Linked DNA regions of Homo sapiens: region 1 is linked to region 2. The links are contacts of gene promoters, found by promoter capture Hi-C in human tissues and cell types (Jung and others, 2019). All regions are on one chromosome and are shown on one strand. Each heading gives the region's core, a stretch centred on a gene start or on the middle of the fragment in contact. The rest is flanking DNA. Distances are from core to core; before and after follow the strand shown. Region 1 overlaps MICU1 (mitochondrial calcium uptake 1). Region 2 holds the start of DNAJC9 (DnaJ heat shock protein family (Hsp40) member C9).

What was found. The method cuts DNA at HindIII sites, captures the fragments that hold promoters and counts their contacts. A contact is called where the count stands out against the background at its distance.
Region 1: a fragment that was not itself captured here is called in contact with the fragment with the promoter of DNAJC9 in region 2 in 1 of the 25 tissues and cell types used here (lymphoblastoid cells).

The regions. Positions count from the first base shown.
Region 1 is chr10:72,376,690-72,382,117 of GRCh38, reverse strand. The region is part of intron 10 of MICU1 (mitochondrial calcium uptake 1); the gene reads left to right. Among named protein-coding and RNA genes, the nearest start is that of DNAJB12, 24 kb to the right of the region's middle. The HindIII fragment of the contact is 7,352 bases long and covers 1-5,428 here.
Region 2 is chr10:73,244,845-73,249,908 of GRCh38, reverse strand. DNAJC9 (DnaJ heat shock protein family (Hsp40) member C9) reads left to right here and starts at 2,654. Exons shown (of 5, transcript NM_015190.5): 1 at 2,654-2,899; 2 at 3,081-3,221; 3 at 3,733-3,987. The coding sequence starts at 2,720. DNAJC9-AS1 (DNAJC9 and MRPS16 antisense RNA 1) reads right to left here and starts at 2,542. Exons shown (of 4, transcript NR_038373.1): 1 at 2,526-2,542; 2 at 1,459-1,616. MRPS16 (mitochondrial ribosomal protein S16) reads left to right here. Exons shown (of 3, transcript NM_016065.4): 3 at 1-1,060. RefSeq lists enhancers at 2,408-2,747, 2,013-3,212 and a silencer at 2,948-3,097. The HindIII fragment of the contact is 4,197 bases long and covers 864-5,060 here.

The DNA.
Region 1 (5,428 bases), core at 985-3,484, 870 kb after region 2:
AATTCAGATCCAAAATGTAACTCGTACCAAATACACACTATTCCATTATTTCCCATATGTGTGTATTAATATATCTGATATCTGTCTCTTCTACGTGTTTCTCCATCTTAATGTGTGTGTGTGTGTGTGTGTGTGTGTGTGTGTGTGTGTGTGTATAGATATATATATACACAGTCTCCTCCACCAAACTGTGATTGTCCCATGGGTGTGTCAGCTGAAATCATTGACTACCTAATGATGCTTGCAGAAATGCTAGCCCTTTGTGGAAAAGATGTGATGGGGATTTTTAATAAACCCAGATACAATACTAGACAATGGCAATAAATCTTACTGCCAAGTTAGTTTGTACCAAATTAAGCGTGTAAGCCCATTGAAGCCATCATCTGGGATGATGCGCTCAGGCTCAGAAAACAGATCTTCTCCGTGGTGTGTCCTGGAAGTTAGGAGCTAGGATTAGCAGCATCACCTCTGACAGTCAGGCAGCCTGAGTACACAGGGGGTCAGCGGGCATAGGGCCTAAGAGCACCGTACAGAACAAGGAATTGTTATCATTTCCATTACTTGTAGGCTGCATTGCTCTTGGCTCCTTAAATTGCTAGTTCTCCTAAATGTTGTCGTTTCCCCTCCCCTCACCCCAGAACTAGGTTAAAATGTGCATTTGTATTAACAAAAGCTCATGGAAGGAGATACAAAAGACAGGACACATGCTCTTTAAGGAAATATCCTCCCCCTTGTTCCACCCAAAGCCATCTAGGGATGGACTTAAGAAAACAAGACATCTGCATCAGCCTTTCCAGGGCTGAAGCAGAACCATCTCCCCTCACTTAACCTTGGCCATCACCAGTCAGCTTTTGATTTTCTCCACTGCAGTCCGGTAAGGCAGGAATAGTACATGGCCACACAGCTTAGAGACTGTCAGCCCAACTTGTCATACCACCTTTCCAAACACTTTTGCATTAGGAAGAGGCAGGTAGCTCCTAACTGGGTCATGCTGCCTAAAGCTGTATCTGTGCATCAGAGGCAGCTGTGGAGAAAAACTCCCAGGGCCACATTCGTTACATGTGCTTTTCGTTGGATTGCTGTTGAATACACTTTTTAAGTTGTCCCTAAAATTGTCGGTATGAGTTCCTAGGGAATACTCAGTGTCTTCCACTGTAGGGGGTAGTCAGATCCACGGCCAACCTATAATTAATGCTGGTGCCTCACAACTCCCAGTTATTCAATTATTCATTCATCCCTCACCAAAAGGACTTGAGTATTTCCCATGTGACTTTTCTTTAATCTAAACCCTTTCTCCTCAGGGTGACAGATTCATGTCATGGAGGAATTGATATTGTCCATATATGGAAGGGATCATGTGGACCCAGTGTGTATAGGGAAAGGGCACCAGCCAAAATTCGAGACCCAGCTCTGTTACCATCTAGCATTGTGACCCTGGGCAAATTATTTAACGTCACATTTCCTCTGAGGTATCTTCCAGTTCTAAGATTCTCTGATTCCAAGTGGACATTTGGGCTCTCATCACTTCAGAGCTCTTCTGTTTAACTATTGTGGTGAATAGATTTATGTATGTAGTTTCTGATATTATATCACACAAACTCAGGGTTTCTTTTTACTGTTGAAACAGCCAGTCATGAATCATGCTGGAGAGTAAATTGGGGACCTGACACAACTCGGATTCTGCCTGGACTTTGCAAAAAGCCAGATGGTGCCAGATTTTTGAGTACTAGTTGAGCCCACTTCTACAAATTCTCTCCCATCCCAATCTAATAGGAATCACCCAATCGCACTTAAACCCTTTGTTCAGGCAGCTGGGCCAGATTTGTACAAAAATACGTAGTATTTAGAAAGCTAGGCCTTCGCTGGGGTGCCTTCATGCTCCCTGTAGACATCTTTCAGATTGGGAGCTGGAATCCCAACCATCAGTCAGCATCATCAAATAGGGAGGCCAGAATTCCAGTACCAACAACTGGTCTGCATAAAAAAGTTGAGATCTGGGAGGAAAACTTGTTCTGCTTGCTGTGATTATGACTGGATTCAGAGATATTGGAAGCAAATATGAATGAACCAACTCTCAGGACCAGCTGTCAAGCACTTGGCTTGTAATCTGCCGTCATCCCACTCATCCCAGGTGCTCCTAGTTTGACAGCTCACCAGCTATTAAATGTTGGCTTCCTGCACGACTCTGATTCATACCCCAGGGGCCTATAATGAGGATCTTGTACCAGGAAAGGGGACCCCAGCTAGGCTGTTTGCTGGCTAACATCCCAGTGGTTTGGGCTACAATAACTTAGCAGCCCTAGTTCTTCCTCCTATGGTAGGAAGGACACCAGAGCCCTCTCCATGTGAGATGGAACATAATCTATAACTTTCTGTGAAGAGATGGCATCTGTAATGAGGCATTCTTGCTGGAGGCCTCCAGAAGTCCCTATTCTACAACCACTTAATACCAATTTAATGAGCCTCTCATTAGAAATTGTCAAGAGCTCTCACTGACATCCTTGAGTATTATTTAATTAATGGTTTATTTACAGGAAAGGGCACCATCTTCATGGGGAGAAGATGAGTACTTGAAATATCAAGACAATTGCAGAAGGCTGTGCCCTGAGAGAATGGAAGAACTGGGAAAGAGAAAAGGAAGTCAGAAGCTTAAGGTTGATGTGAAATGCAGAAAAAGGAATGGTTAACAGAAAGTGTTCATGTTTATCTAATACAGAACAGGTTCCGATCCCCTTCTCAGGACACATTTCTGTGGCAGCAAAGAGTAAAGCTGTAGGCAATCACAGTTTAAGCGCTTCCAGTTCCTTCTGATCTCATTCTGTTTTCACTGAGTAATCTTTTGAGGTTAATCTTCTGAGGTGAATGGGGTTTCCTTAGTAGCTTTCCTACTGAGAAGTATAATGACCAGCTGTCATCATTGTAGTTCTCTTAACAGTTACTATTCTTATTGCAAATTGGCCTGATTTCTGTTCCTTCTGTGGACAGTTTAGTTAGCAGGAATAAGTTTTTCCTGAGCCAAATCAAGTATCTAGATTTGTGAGGCTAAATTTCTAAACTCTAGAGCGCTATAGTCTTGTAGATTTCCCAACACACATCTCATGAATATCCACCACAATATCTTATACTTCAGTCTTTTAGTACCAAAGAATGTTAATTTCCTCTTCACCCTAACTCAGATCCTGGGAGAAAAGATGGGATATTTCCACCCCAACCTCACCCTCAGATTCTAGATGACACCAATAAACCCTTCTTTGTGCTAGTAAGCCGCCTCAGCAGTTGTCTGGTGGCATCCCTCCACTTGAACATGAGAAAATTAAATCTAAAGAGATCAAGTGACTCCATCCGGGTCACACAGCACGTTGGTGGTGGGGCCAGAACTGGAGCCCAGGTCCCGTTACTCCAAGCCTTGTTTTCTACCGCATTACCTTGCTCCTCTGCATTGCTCCAGTGTTTGCATCTGCTGATGTTGGGGGCACTGTGGTGATGTATTAATTAATTCTTGCATTGCTATAAAGAACTACCTGAGACTGGGTAATTTATAAAGAAAAGAGGCTTAATTGGCTCACAGTTCCACAGGCTGTAAAGGAAGCATGGCTGAGGAGGCCTCAGGAAACTTACAATCCTGGTGAAAGGCGAAGAGGAAGGAGGCACGTCTCACATGGCCAGAGCAGGAGGAAGAGAGAGAGGTGGGAGGTGCCACACACTTAACCAGATCTCATGAGAACTCGCTTACTATCATGAGAACAGCAAGGGGGAAATCTGCCCCCATGATCCAGTAACCTCCTACCAGGCCCCTCCTCCAACACTGGGGATTACCATTTGTTTTTGGATTTTCAGGGTTTTTTTGTTTTTGTTTTGCTTTTGTGAGACAGAGTCCCGCTCTGTAACCGAGGCTGGAGTGCAGTGGCACAGTCTTGGCTCACTGCAACCTCCGCCTCCCAGGTTCAAGTGATTCTCATGTCTCAGCCTCCTGAGTAGCTTGGACTATAGGTGCGCACCACCACGCCCAGCTAATTTTTGTATTTATTTTAGTAGAGACAGGGTTTCACCATGTTGGCCAGGCTGGTCTCGAACTCCTGACCTCAGGTGATCCATCAGCCTTGGCCTCCCAAAGTGCTGGGATTACAGGTGTAAGCCACCACGCCTGGCCTGGGAATTACAATTTGACATGAGATTTGGGTGGGGGCACAAATCTAAACCGTATCGGGTAAATATATGGAGGTGATAGAGGCAAAGTGAAAGATCAAATGCAAAAAATGACAAGATGGGCTGATAATAGGAACTGAAATTATAGGAATGCGATAAACAAGGCACAGTGGTTCTAGTTTAAGTTCACTTGGCTTCTGGATGAATCTAATGTGATGATTATAGAGAGCTCTTCATTACCAGCATAAATGGAAATTAATCCTTTTCTTTCCCTCATATTTTACCTCACTTAAGAATGTGTCCAGAAGCAATAACATGATTTATAGGTGTAGCTAGACCAGGTTTGAGGATAAATGAGAGAGAAGGCAGTGGAAATTGCCTCGTCCTTCCTGTCTTGTCTTTCATGAGAACCCAATTCTAACATAATTGCTAGTGTTTGACGGTGAATGTCTGGGAAAGAGAAAACGGCAAGAGAAAAGTGATTTTTTGCTGAGGTCTAAAAATATATATTTTTTAAAAGAAAGATATGCATCCTGAACTATTGGCCGGGCCCGCTGAGTGTGGTGGCTCACCCCTGTAATCCCAGCACTTTGAGAGGCCGAGGTGGGCAGATCACCTGAGGTCAGGAGTTCAAGACCACCCTGGCCAACATGGTGAAACCCCATCTCTACTAAAAATATAAAAATTAGCCAGGCGTGATGGCAGGCACCAGTAGTCCCAGCTACTTGGGAGGCTGAAGCAGGAGAATTGTTTGAACCCGGAAGGCAGTGGTTGCAGTGAGCCGAGATCGTGCCACTGCACTCCAGTCTGGCGGACAGAGTAAGACTCTGTCTCAAAAAAAAAAAGAAAGATACGCATCCTGAACTGTTAAGACAAGGGCCAGTGCATATACCAATGGGCTCAGTTGGAAGAAGTCTGGTGCAAAACCAGTAGGGAGGAGGGACAGAGTTGGGCAGGGAGGGCTCACTGTGCAGGCACTTAGCTGTCATTCACCCACCAAGGCGTGAAGCCTTAGTGTACTCACACCACAGACAAGCCTCCTTGTTCCCACCACCCATTTATATATTTCTATAAATATATATATAAATATAAAAATATATATGGCATAAAATGTGCCATTATAACCATTTTTAAATATACAAGTCAGTGGAATTACATTAATTACATTCACAATGTTGTACAACCATCATCACTATTTTCAAAATTTTTCCATCACCCCAGACAGAAATTCTGTATACATAAAGCAGTAACTCCCCATTCCCCTCAGCCCACAATAACCTCT
Region 2 (5,064 bases), core at 1,405-3,904:
TAGAGATGGGGTTTCACCGTGTTGGCCAGGATGGTCTCAATCTGACCTTGTGATCTGCCCACCTCGGCCTCCCAAAGTGCTAGGATTACTGGCGTGAGCCACCACTCCTAGCCTTAATGCATATTCTTAAATATACAAAGGTAGATTTGTTATGAAAATTGCTTTGGGGCTCTAATAACCTACCTTTTAAGAATGAGAAACTGCTGGGCTTAAGGGAGTTCAGTATGAATCAAGATTGAACCATTCAAATGTGGCTGTGATTTCTGCATATATCATAGATGGGATCCTTCTGAGAATACTGGAATAGGGAATTAGGACACCAAGCCAATTCAGCTGTGAACCTTATTCTTGTACTTTTCTTTCTTGCTGGTAATTTTATGGAGCAGGTTAAGAAGGCTGCTCTGTGTTAGGATAAACTGTATACCAATAATGTTGACAACCTGTAATGAGTGTTGCATTTTACTTCTTGTATCTTTTCCTTCCTACCTTGATGCCAGTAATCTATAAGGGATCTTTATAGTTTGAATGTATTTGAATAACTTCAGTATACTTTAGTTCTACTTTTTTATTTGACTCACAACCATTCTTAGGTCTCAAGTATTCCCATGTGTTTTAAAAGCCTGAAGTCAGTGAGATGAAATTCAACATCAAGAATTTGAAGTAACTTGTAAGGAAAAATAATATAAAGATACCATTGGGGCAGTGGCTCACACCTGTAATCTCAGCACTTTGGGAGGCTGAGGTGGAAGGATCACTTGAAGCCAGAGTTTGAGACCAGCCTGTGCAACACAGCAAGACCCCGTCTCTACAAAAACTTAAAAAATTAGCTGGCTGTGGTGTTGCTCACCCATAGTTCCAGCTACTCGGGAAGCTGAGGCAGTAAGATCACTTGAGCCCAGGAGGCCGATGCTGCAGTGAACTGTGATTGTTCCACTACAGTCCAGCCTGGGTGACAGAGAAAAGAAAAAGAAAACATTACATAATTTGGCTAGAGCATAATAATTTGATTTTCTGGTTTTTGAAAATTTGAGTTGCAATAAAAGGATATTTCAGTGTGCGATTTCAATTTTCCGTAGCAAATGTATATATAGAAAAATGTTAAAATAGATGTATTTGAATACCTTAAAAAATACAAGAAACTGGAAGAAAGATAATATTGCAAAGCATCTACATATATCCTAGGCCTTTTGTGTACAAGGTTATTTGTGACAATTGTAAGGTATTATGAAGGCAGGTAGGATTATCTCCGTTTTACAGATAGGGAAGCTGAGGCCTAGAGGTGGAAACTTGCCCAGTGATGTAAGATTCATCTCCCGGTTATGCCCTCCTGGAAAGCCCTTCCCAACATATTATGTTGTCCATAGAGGGAAAAATGAGCAAAGACAGATGGCTTAACTCTGGTGTGTGACTAAGATATAGGAAATTTATAGAGGAGGTTCTATCAATGTGCCGACTTACTTTGTGTTTTATGTTCTGAGAACGATTACCAGCCATCTCAAATTCTGTGGTTGTCAAAGCTCCCCTGGGGTTGTTGCTGGTTGGCCCCCACTTGCTTTGAGACTTTGATGCCAGGGCAGGTTGAGAGGAACTGACTTCAGCTGAGTTTGATCTTGGATCTGGGAAAGAGAAATGCTTTGAAAATCACGGCAACTCTGGGAAGTTTAAAAGATATTAATGTATCCTGGAGAGTTTGAGGCTTTGCAGAAACTTATTGGCAGAGCAGAATGATTCTGAAAAATGCTACATCAGTGAGGGGATATTTGATAAGGTATTTTCTGCCAACTCGGGTATTCACTTAGCATTGTTTATCCTTTAAGATATGTATACACATACTTCCTCTGTGAGTTTACCCTACTAACAAAGTTTTATCCCCAGCCTCAACCTTGCTTTGGGTCTCCAGGCCCAAGTTTCTCACCATCTCTTGGATGATTGCTCCAGCCCACTCTGCTGCCACCTGGGATCCAACATGTTCAAACCCAGCTGTGAACTTCACAGAGTATTAAAAGAAAGAGCCTTTGCTTCAGCAGTTTATGTTATTAAGACGGAGGCTTGGGTCATGTTATCTCTCTCCACCAATGTGTAAGGTGAAAGTCCTATTAGGTAAGAGTTTTTGGAAGACCCGTGTTTTGTGCTTTTTGGGTTTCAGTATAGGGTTTTTTCCTACAGGGCTAGAGGGAAAGTACCCCAGCATTTCCAACCAGTGGGGTGCAAAATTATTTGGGTCTACAGCTTTACCTATTCCTTTCAAGAACATTTTTGAAAAAACACATCTGTTAAGTTGAACCATGTGTAACTGCTGAATGCTGATGTTTGGCCGTTTTCTACTTAAAAAAATAGGCCAGCAGTTTGTAAATTCAAGCTAATATATGAACTTTTTGAAAAAGTTGTTCTTGGACACTAAAAGGTAAGACGGACGCCAGATTTCCAGAGCAAGGGGAGGAGAGACCCGAGCAACATCACTTCCCTGAAGACCTAGCTCCTGCGCGCGGCCGGGGACTGTGACTCCACATGCCGGCGTTACTTACCCGGGCCCGCGCCTGACTCGCCACACCTCATTTTGCGGCCGCCGTAAAGCGCGGATGCGCGGCGTGGCCACGCCCCTTCAGTGCTTGTGACGCAGGCGCCCTGGGCTTTTTGGGCGCGAAAAAGAAGCAGTCCTGGGTTGTACCCGGCGCAGCTGGGAGCGGCTGCTTCCTCCGGGGTCGTATCTCCGCCCGGCATGGGGCTGCTGGACCTTTGCGAGGAAGTGTTCGGCACCGCCGACCTTTACCGGGTGCTGGGCGTGCGACGCGAGGCCTCCGACGGCGAGGTCCGACGAGGCTACCACAAGGTGTCCCTGCAGGTACACCCGGACCGGGTGGGTGAGGGCGACAAGGAGGACGCCACCCGCCGCTTCCAGGTATGCAGGGTCCCGCCCCGAAGCCGACCGGCTGCGCGGGCCTCCCCCTAGCCTTTTGGCTACCGGGCCCCGCCCCGGGGGAGCGCGCTGAGCTCCGCTTGGCGCCTTCTGATCTTTATTTCTCGCGCCGCCGTTTCGGTGGGAGGAGCAGGGGTGATTTACGGATACTCTTTGCCCTCAGATCCTGGGAAAAGTCTATTCCGTTCTCAGTGACAGAGAACAGAGAGCAGTGTACGATGAGCAGGGAACAGTGGACGAGGACTCTCCTGTGCTCACCCAAGACCGAGACTGGGAGGCGTATTGGCGGCTACTCTTTAAAAAGGTAAAGGACTCTGGAGGTTTCTTTGTGACTGTTACCATCATTCAATCAACAAACCTTTATTGACTGCCTCTAAGATCTTGTATTTTGTGTTAATTTTGTAGGAATTAGGAATTTTGAGTTTGGCCTTGAAATACAGATACACGCACGCTTACTGAAACGGGCTTTAAATTTCCTGTTAATGTGATTGTTGCACTGAAAAGGGCCGATTTATTTTTTTTGCCGGATGCGCTTTATTTTACATATCCAAATGTAAGTCCTGATTCCGGATCACCTCTCACTCTTGGAAATTTCACTTAAATTTCCCTTCCCTGGTCCCTAGTTAGCAGTTAATGAAGATTGGATTTAAAAAGGAGGACTCCGGAGAAGCTTAGGCATAGAAAATCTGGTTCAATAATTTCAACTCAAGCAACTGTTGTATTGCAGCAATTCAACACCCAACTCTAGTTTTACTAACGTACGTTTTATTTAAAGTAAAATTCCCAAAGTTAAAGCAAATCTCCTTTATCATCAGATATCTTTAGAGGACATTCAAGCTTTTGAAAAGACATACAAAGGTTCGGAAGAAGAGCTGGCTGATATTAAGCAGGCCTATCTGGACTTCAAGGGTGACATGGATCAGATCATGGAGTCTGTGCTTTGCGTGCAGTACACAGAGGAACCCAGGATAAGGAATATCATTCAGCAAGCTATTGACGCCGGAGAGGTCCCATCCTATAATGCCTTTGTCAAAGAATCGAAACAAAAGATGAATGCAAGGAAAAGGAGGGTAAGATTTTGAATACTGTGGATTTATATTTTGACTGCTTCCAAAAAGGATTTGAGAGTATTTACAGCAGTAGAAGTAAACATAAAACTCCAGAAATAAGGACTAGGGTTAACTTGGTCTATAGTTTCGATCTAATAAAATGGGCATACCAGTTCATCAAGAGAAACTTTTTCTAGCATGTTGTGCTCAAGATGATTTTTATTGCATAGATTGTTTAAATATTACCATAGTAAAGTAGCACTGAAATATTTTTTCATGTAGGCCAATTCTTGTAGCATTCCTGAGGCATTCCTCAGGAGATAAAGTTAGTGGAACCCGGGTACACAGGATGGGCAGTGATCCTTACTCGGTTGAGGGGGTAAGAAGAGAATGGCAGACACCGTCTTGTTAAAAGTGCAGATGTTTGGGCCTTTGCCCCGAATTTGATTCTTGAGTTGGATACAGAATTTTTCTTTTCTTTTTTTTTTTTTTAAAGAAAAACTTTAGCTTAGCGGTCCCCAGCCTTTTTGATACCAGGTACCTGTTTTGTGGAAGACAGTTTTTCCAGTGACAGTGGGGGTGAGGAGAGTTGGGGGGGTGGTTCAGGATGAAACCTTAGATCATCGGGCGTTAGATTCTCTTAAGGAGCACACAACTTTTAGGACCACTGCTGCCTTCCTGAGTGCCCTCAGGAACTTTTCTGCAGCTTTTACATAAGAGACGCTGGCAGAGAGAAAGCTGACCTTTTTGTTTCCGGTGAAAATTTGAAGGGCCTGTTTTGCCTAGATAAGAGGCTGCACCCTTTCTGGTGAGCTTGAGGGGAACGGTGGAGTGTATATCAAGACCATTTTGGTTCATAGGCTACATCTGCTAAGACTCAAGCTGACAATTATCTTAAGTCGTTCATCATTTCCTGAGATGAAACTGAGCACAGCTGCATTCACAGTAGACTGTTAGCTTGAGAAACTTCCCTAGAATTTGAGGAGAAAATGGCATAGTTTTGATAGACTGTTCAACAAACCTTAGGGGGATGCTGAATTTAAAGAGAGAATTTGAATACAAGGAAACGGTGTCTTATTGGGATAGGGGGTCCTAATG